Regions from separate parts of the Homo sapiens genome. Here region 1 is linked to region 2. The links are contacts of gene promoters, found by promoter capture Hi-C in blood cells and fetal thymus (Javierre and others, 2016). All regions are on one chromosome and are shown on one strand. The core of a region is centred on a gene start or on the middle of the fragment in contact, and the rest is flanking DNA. Distances in the headings are between cores, read along the strand shown.

Region 1 (4,276 bases), core at 1,122-3,621, 340 kb before region 2:
AAATCACCCAAAGAGTTCTACTTAAAAAAAAATGTTTAGATTGAGTTATCCAGTTAAAATCAAACTCTCCAGGCTGACTGATATCAATGGCTCATATGTGCAATTGGCTTTCCTCCTGGTTGTAAGCAAGAGGACAAGGACCACATCTTCCCTGTGCACCCAGCATAACATGGCCCCTAGCAGGTGCTCCATAGGCACTTGTTGTACACATGTACAACAGTAATTATGGCTTGTTGTAATTATTCAACTTGTTGAATGAAGGTTGAACATCATCAGGAGAGACTCACTTGGCCTTCGTCTGTGGAAGCAAAGGATGAAAATGTAATAGAGAATAATAGAATAGAGACATCTTCATGGTCCCTGACTCCCAGTAAAGCTAGGATCTTTGTACCTAATCATAAGTAACAGGGATATTCTGAAGGGGTTCTGTGGCCCCTTGACAATCATAAGTGATTTTGAGAAATAAATATTTTGACATCTAGTCCCAAAGCATTAGTCATGAGACTGACAATCATTGATGAGACAGTGGAAATGTGGAAGTTGGCACTGGACTATGAAAATGCAGTTCCGTGGGACTTGGATGAGGCATGACAGCCAGAAGATCAGCTTCAGACACGAAACCCTTCCTCCTAGCCCCACCAAAATTATTCTTCAGTGTGTAGCTCCATTGCATACGGGCTGGGGATGAGCCTTTTCCTCTATGTTGCTCCCTTGATTCTCTTTCATGCACATTCTTGGCATGTCACAGACTCTCCCCAGCCTTGAATTCTAGCCCCATTCCATCTCATCTGGGGCAAGTCTCACAATTCCTCATCTATTCAGTGTGCACAATTCATATCTGCTGTACCTGACTCAGGATTCCTGGGAGAATCAAATGAGATTATTCATTCGGCTTTTCAACAAATATTTGTTGAGTAGTTGCTGAATAACATAGTGTAAGGGAGACTGTGAGAGATAATGATGAATCAGACTGCGTCTTACCCTCAGGGACCCAGGCAATGTACAAGGCGAGACAAGTTCACATTCCAAGGTGAAATCGTCAGTCCAAGAGAGGACCAGATACTGGGCTATGGGAGCTCAGAGGTAATATGGATTATTCCAGCAGGAGGTAATAAAGAGGGCTCCAGAACAGAGGCTGCTGTTTTTGGGCTGAATTTCCAGAGTTAAAATGCAAGCAGTTTGGAAACAAAATTGGTACACAAATATTGGGCATAGGTTATAAATACCTAATTTATGGAATTCTCTATGTCCCAGAGTAATGCCTACCTAAACTCACATAGATTTCAAGCAAATAACAGATAACATTTATGGAGTACTCTTGCAGTGCAAGATACTATATGCTTTATATTTGAGAACTCAACGTAATCTAAGCAAAACCCTAAGAGGCAAGATCTAGTATCAAATCCACATTGCAAATGAGGAGAATAAGGCACTGAGGGGTTGAGTTTCTTGCTGAAGGTCACACAGACAATAAATTATACAGCCAATATTTAAACTCAGGTGGTCAGAGTTCAAATACTGCTTCTCAGACAAAGGAACAAAAATAATAAAGTCATTGCTCAAATAATTCAGTCCCTTCACAGAACTGTTATTTTGAAAAAAATAAATGTTGGATCCTGGTGAATTATGGCAAAATTTATCTGGGAAATTACATTTCAGGTTGAGAACGTACAGGAATAAAGCCTCTTTCTTCATAGGCATCATTGAAGTCATTCCAGAGTATTTTGTGCTATGGCCAGTAGATGGCAGAAAGTGACAAGAAAAGGACTGGAAACTGGGACCCCCCCCCCCACCACACACACACACACACACACACACACACACACACACACACACACACTAGCTCCCTGCTTGCAAAACAAAATGCATTTTGCCTACAATATATTTCGTTTAGAGTAGCAAACACTTTCTCCTTCCTCAAAGCGAGCTCCAGAGTAGAAACTGCAATTGTGTATTTGAAATTCTCCAGTCACCAAATCCAAGAAAGGTGAAGAGGAACTGCCCCAGTGGCGTCTGCGAGGCGTTTCCTCTATAAAGCTGTCGTCCCTAGCTCTGGTCAGTGCTGACCAAGTCACCCTGGCCTCCTCCCCGGCCCCTTTTTCTACTGCAGGAAAGGCTGGAGCTTCGGAAGAGATAACATCAGGGAAGTACTTGGCAACTATGAAGAGTTTTACCCATGTTAAAACAAAAGCCAGCAAAGCATTCCTTCAGTAAAGATATGTTAAGCACCTATCGTGTGCTGGGCTCTGGGCACAACCAAAAGCTTGGCAGCTGCTATTTAACCTCCTCCTGCTTCACCAGCAGCAAACTGTTGCCAAATGAGCCTAAAAAGAAATTAGTTCCATGGATTCCTTTGCTGAGTAATTCTGCAGTGAAAATAAGAGAAATCAGACACACTGGAAACTTTTAATTACAAGAAAACCTGGGGAATCCTATTGCCGTCTTAGATTTTAAAAGACCGCTCTAAGTATTGAACTCAGAAGCTTTAAAAGGAAAAGATATTATTAGACTTGACTACATAAAACTTTTAATCATCTGAACTTCAAAAAGCACTTTGAAAATCAGAAGAAAAAATAAAAAGCTGTAAAACATATGACAAAGAATTAATGTTCTTAAATATAAATATTCTAAGAGCTCTTATAAATCAATAAATGTATAGATCAATAAATCCTGTAAATCAATATTCTTATCAATTGATCAGATGGGCAAACGGCATGAAGAGGCATATCACAGGATAAAATGGAGCAAAGGGCCAATGAAACATTGGAAATGTGCTCAATTTAATTCATAGTAAATAAATACAAATTTAAATGGAAACAATAGTTTATTTTTCACCCCTGGGTATGGAGTCAGCCTTCTCCTGGGGTATTGGTAAGTATAAGTTGGCAAAACTTTTTCAAGAACAATTTGACAACATTTAGGAATATGTTTGCATTTCCTTGACTTAGAAATTCTGGTCTTCTCTGCCTCCCTCACTCAGGTGCACTCAGTCAGTCCTGTATCTTTCAACATGTCTCATAGACTGACAGTGGCCAAATTAAGTCTCCAGCCCTGACCTCTCCTCTGCACCCCAGGCTCCTTTCTGAACACCTCCCTTTGGATGTGTAATAAACACAGCAAACATCAGTCCACGATGGAATTCTTTTTCCTTTCCCCTACCTTCTCAAAACTGCTCCTGCTCCCCATCCCCTCTTAGTAAATGGCCCTGCCACTCAGCATATTAGTGAAGTCCCGGAACCCTGGAGTTATCCTTGATATGCTCTTCTGTCCTTGAACCTGCCACATTTCCATCTTTGATTTCCTGTTCCAGAATGTTCTCTCCCTTGCTTCATCAAGTCTCTCACCAGAGAAGTCTTTCCTGACCACACACTCTGGAATAGTAACTCTGTCACTCTCCATTCCCTCCACTGTCTTATTGTTCTTAGCTTACGTCACCACCTGATGTCATGACTCTTGCCTGTCTAGGCACTACTGTATAAGCGCCACTGAAGCAGGATCTATATTGTCTTCAACACAGCATTCCTAGTGCCTACCACATTTCTTGGCACATAGTGGGCTCTCAAAAATCAGTGTGGGATGAATGAATCCAGGACTTACCCTACAGATGTGTGTATGTGTGTATAAATATATATTCAATTAACTATGCCTTAATAGGGACTAGTTAAGTGGATTATAATTTTTTAAAACCCTCAGTTTCCTCATACAAAAATAGGATAGAAAAAAGTACCTATCTCATATGGTTTTTGTGAGAATAAAATAAAAATGACACCTGGTACTTGGTACATAGACACATTCAACAAATGTTAGGTACTGGCAGCTCATCACTGCTTGGCAGCCGATAAAAAGAATGAGTTAAATCAAATGTACTGACCTGGAAGATGTCCACAACATATGGTTAAATTAAAAAACCAAGGTTGCAAAGCAATGTGAATACTATGCTCTTAGGGAAAGGCCCAGAAGGAGTTCAGGGAAGCATCTGAAGGTGATGGGTGGCTGTGGTAGCCACCTATGGTGAATGAAGTTCACAGAGAAAGGTCTGGGGAAGAGAGAAGAGACCAGGCATGTAACGTATTTGCTTAAATATGCTTCTGTATGGTTTGAATGTTTGGCAAAGCATATTGATACTTTTACAATATTTTTTAACTTTAAAAGCAGATAACGCCCCAGAGAACTACTCTGTTGTTACGCTGTAACAGGGAAATGTGTTGAGCTTCCAGGCTGCTAAAGAAATTTTGCCCCAGCCTGCCTTGAATTTTTGTAGGTAAAACCTGACACT
Region 2 (3,931 bases), core at 1,406-3,905:
GGAAACTGGGCAAATGTCTGGGATTAGTGGGAGTGGGCTTCTCTTCAGCCATTTCTCTCATGCAGGTCCCTACACCTTCAGGAAAACTTCTGTGAAGGGGCTGTTCCTGAGATAAGAAAAGATGCTGGTAGAGGGGCTTGGATAAACACCCAAAGTTGTAGGAAGTCAGTGTGTTCTTCCCACTCTGATGTACTGGCCTGAGGTCACCAAAAGCTGGATGTCTGCCACCTCAGCCAGGACTCAGCCACTATGAACAATACTACAACACCACTTCAGTCCAGTGAAGAGACACCCTTGAAAGGCAAACCACGTACAGAATGCTACTGCATTGTAAGAAACTTTTCTAGGCAGGATTTGCTGAATCCTGGGCCATTAGTCTACAAAAATGTGCAAGATAGTGTTTTCTATTTTCATAAAGTTTCAGAGAAAAGAACGACTTTAGCACAACTGTGCTAAAGCAATAGTAATGACTTAAAAGCAGAGAAAAGTATAACAAACTTAGTGACATACAGATGAACGAATTTTGCACCTCATGGCCACCCATTCAGACTGGGCAAAAAGGGCATCATGCCATTCAGCTCCCGCTCATTAAGGCTGTCATTTCTATGGCACAAGCTTCAACCTCATCACCAAACAATTAGCTAACTTTATAATACAAGGTCCGTAATGCTGCGGTATTACCACACCTACGGCTGTCAAACAGCCTTTTTAAAAAAGGAATCATTGCTTGAATGTGGGGGACAAAAAAGAAGAATCAATACCATTTTAATGAAACCGAGCATGGGCCAATTAAAATGTAGATGATCATACAACAGCTGCTTGTGGTAAAACAGCAGCAGGCATGGAGGTGTATCCAATTAGGGAGGCCTTGGCTCCTCGGTAAGCTACTTGTGGTTCCCATAAGTGGCTAACGTGCTTCTAGATTTATTTCTGATATTGGGGGTGGAGAGAATGCTATCCCAGCAACACTGCACCAACATGGCCATAAATGCCCCTCAGGCCCCCAGATGGCTAGGGAAACTTTCTGTCCTTCTTGTGTTCACTCTGCACGAGCTGTTTCCTCTGCCTGGAATACACCCTCCAGAGGAGCACAACCTCTATCCTCTAAGTGTAGTGCACCCTTCACCAGGACCAAGCTCGCCTCAGACTCTCACAGAACCCCTCTTCCATGTATTATCATTCTTCACCGGCCTTCAAGTTTCCTCCACTAGGCTGCAGACTCCTGCCCTGTGATCTCATTTAGCATCTTTCTATCCTGTTCCTAGCAGAGTAGAAGCTGGGTTTGTTGGATGAATGAGTAAACTAATCCATTTCAAGAAGTTAACACATTGGTGGAAACTCTGTAACTGCCCGCACCTGCAGTCTAGAGATTCCTCACCTTCACAAAGAACCTGCGACAGCCAGTCCCTAGACTTAAGCGGAAACCCCACAATTTCTGAAATTGTAGGTGGGGATGAGAAGGTTGGAGAACAAGAACCCAAGGAAGTGAGAGGGAAAGGGAGATAGGGGCAGCGTTACCTCACTGCTCTCTCCAAACGAAAAGGTGTAAACCCCATTTACAAGTATTCAAACCTGAGATCTGGGGGTCACGTGGGGAAGGAGAGGCTGTTAATACCTACAACTTTGGAAGTTTGAGGTGAAGACCTGATCTGAAATTGTTTGGCCACAGCTTTTTTTCTACGAGCCAGCTCGACCACCCAAGTAGGAGCCTCGACGCCCAGGAGTTCGGTGGCACCACTGGGGCCTAGTGAGAGGGCAGGAAAACTCCGCTCCCCTCAAGATTCCTTCCCGGTGGTGGTGGGGTGTGATTGGGAGCGTCGGGCAGCTGCATCCCCCTACCGCTGCAGCGACCGCGACGTCGTTCGTCTTTCATCCTCTAGCCCCCAAGGTCTAGGTATCTCTAGTTGCCCTTCCGAGGCCCTCTCTCGTTCCCAAAACGCAGAAGGGAATGGAGAGAGGGGACCAGGGTGTGGGTTTAACCACAAACTCCCCAGACTGCGCTCACCTTCCAGCTCGCTCCCGGGACCAGCTTTGCGCCTCACCGCGGGCAGCTCCCACCGCGAGATAACACCCCTGCGGCCCGGCCACCCCGCGCCCCAGGCTGCCCTGCCAGGCGTCCCGGGGCGCCAATCGCAAGTTGGCGTTGCCAGCGTCTGCCCAAGTCATCTGCAGGGCGCCCGGAGCGCCAAGGCGGCCTCCAACCTCGGGCCCAACTCCCGGCTTGGACGGGGCTTACCTGCTTACATGGCCCCCGTGGCGCCCCGGAGTCCCGCGCGGAAAGGCTGTCCTTCGCGGCGGCGGAGCCGATTCCCCACGGAATTGATTCCAGTGACTGGCGGAGGAGGGGCGAAGGGAAGGAGCCGCAGGAGGCGAAAGGGGAGGGAGGTTTCCGCCGCGATCCCGGCGCGAGAGTCCGAGCAGAGGCGCACCGGGGGAGAAAAGGAGAAAAACCTAAGCACGGGGCTGTCCCGCCCGAGGAGGCCGGGGAGGATGGCTCAGCTGGGAGGGGAAGGAGCGCCAGTGGCCACTTGATGTCTGTCTAGGGCTCCCCGAGGACCTGAGCCAGGAGAGCAGGCGGCTGAGCCCGGAGAAGCACAGCAACCTGCCCCCGAGTCTGCGCCCGCTGCGCTCACTCCGCCGAGAAAAAGTTGGAAAGAACTTTGAGGGGCCGGGAGAGCCAGAGCGGCAGGAAATGCGAGCGGCCGGGAGAGGAGGGAGGAAGGGGCCGTGCGAGTGGGAGGGGACGGAGCAGGCGCCGGCGGCCACGGCTCCCCCACCCCAGAGCCGGGCTCCGCGGCCCTGGGGGCCGGGAGGCGGAGGGAGCGCTGGGCGCGCGGCCGGGGGCGGGGAGGAATGCGGCCCGGGAGGGCGCGCGCCGGGGGCGCCGCGGGCGCGCGCTGAAACGTGGAGCCCCAGCTCCCGAGCTCCCGAGCTGGAGGCGCGCCGTCCTTGGGGACGTCACAGCGCTGGAATCCGAGGAATGCCGGGCTGCAGGAGCTCCTTCTGCAGGCCCGGAGAAGTCGCACACTTTTAATGGGGTAGTTTTGGAAAATGTTTTAAAAGGTGGGGGCCGAGGACGGAGGACCGGATGAAACTCCCTGGAGTAAGAGACGTGGAAGTGGAGAGAGCAAGGCGACCGCAGCCACCCCAACCCTGGGCTGCTCCCGCCGTTGGGGAGAAAGAGGCAAGGCAAGGAAGAGCCCACCTAGACTTCCGAGGACCGCAGAGACGGGGCGGCGGCAGGAACTTGCTCACCCCGACCTACATTCAGAATAGTCCACCTTATATTGGGGAACCCTCCAAGCAGGACGTTTCATGCAGCCACCCCACAGGGGAAAACAGACCAGGAGAAAGTAAGGTGGCCTCACCAAGTAGGCAATCTCAGAGATCTCTCCCTAGAATCTCTGGGTACTGGACCCGGTGTCTTAGCCTTCTCTCCCTGCCCCCTCCCGCCCCGTAGGAATGATAAAAAGCAGCCTGTGTGCTGAGAGTTGGAAAATGTCGTTTTCCCGGTTTGTTCCATGCCACAGAATCGCCCCACCCTGCCTGGGTAGGCACTGGGAGGGAACTTCCTTAGCACTTTCGGAGGTGGAGTTAATGAGACGCAGCTGGTATGATGGAAAAAGCTCGGAGCCAGGCGACTGAACCTGGGTTTTAGGCCCTGCCCGATTGGATAACTGAGGAGTATCCCAGCCCCTGAGATCCTAGGTTTCTGTAGCTGCAAAATTAAATAATTTGTCTAGATTTCTGTGGTCCTTTGCATTGCTACAAACATGTCTTGGGATTTATCTCGGTAAGATTCCAGTCCTTTGTTGAAAAGGGACCTTGAAGTCGTTGGCACACAATGTATTGTCCCAAATCACTTCAGTGTCCGGCAACTCATGCAAAAATTCCTGGCCTCTTGGGGAAGAGAATTGGAAACCAAAAAGCG

The links. The method cuts DNA at HindIII sites, captures the fragments that hold promoters and counts their contacts. A CHiCAGO score of 5 or more calls a contact.
Region 1: a fragment that was not itself captured here is called in contact with the fragment with the promoter of PTPN14 in region 2 in 2 of 17 cell types (megakaryocytes and endothelial precursors); the score reaches 6.0 in megakaryocytes.

What each region holds. Positions count from the first base shown.
Region 1 is chr1:214,212,379-214,216,654 of GRCh38, forward strand. No RefSeq gene overlaps it. Among named protein-coding and RNA genes, the nearest start is that of SMYD2, 67 kb to the right of the region's middle. The HindIII fragment of the contact is 220 bases long and covers 2,262-2,481 here.
Region 2 is chr1:214,548,947-214,552,877 of GRCh38, forward strand. It overlaps PTPN14 (protein tyrosine phosphatase non-receptor type 14), which reads right to left and starts at 2,656. Exons shown (of 19, transcript NM_005401.5): 1 at 2,237-2,656. RefSeq lists enhancers at 1,319-2,140, 2,141-2,961, 2,962-3,782. The HindIII fragment of the contact is 5,292 bases long and covers 614-3,931 here.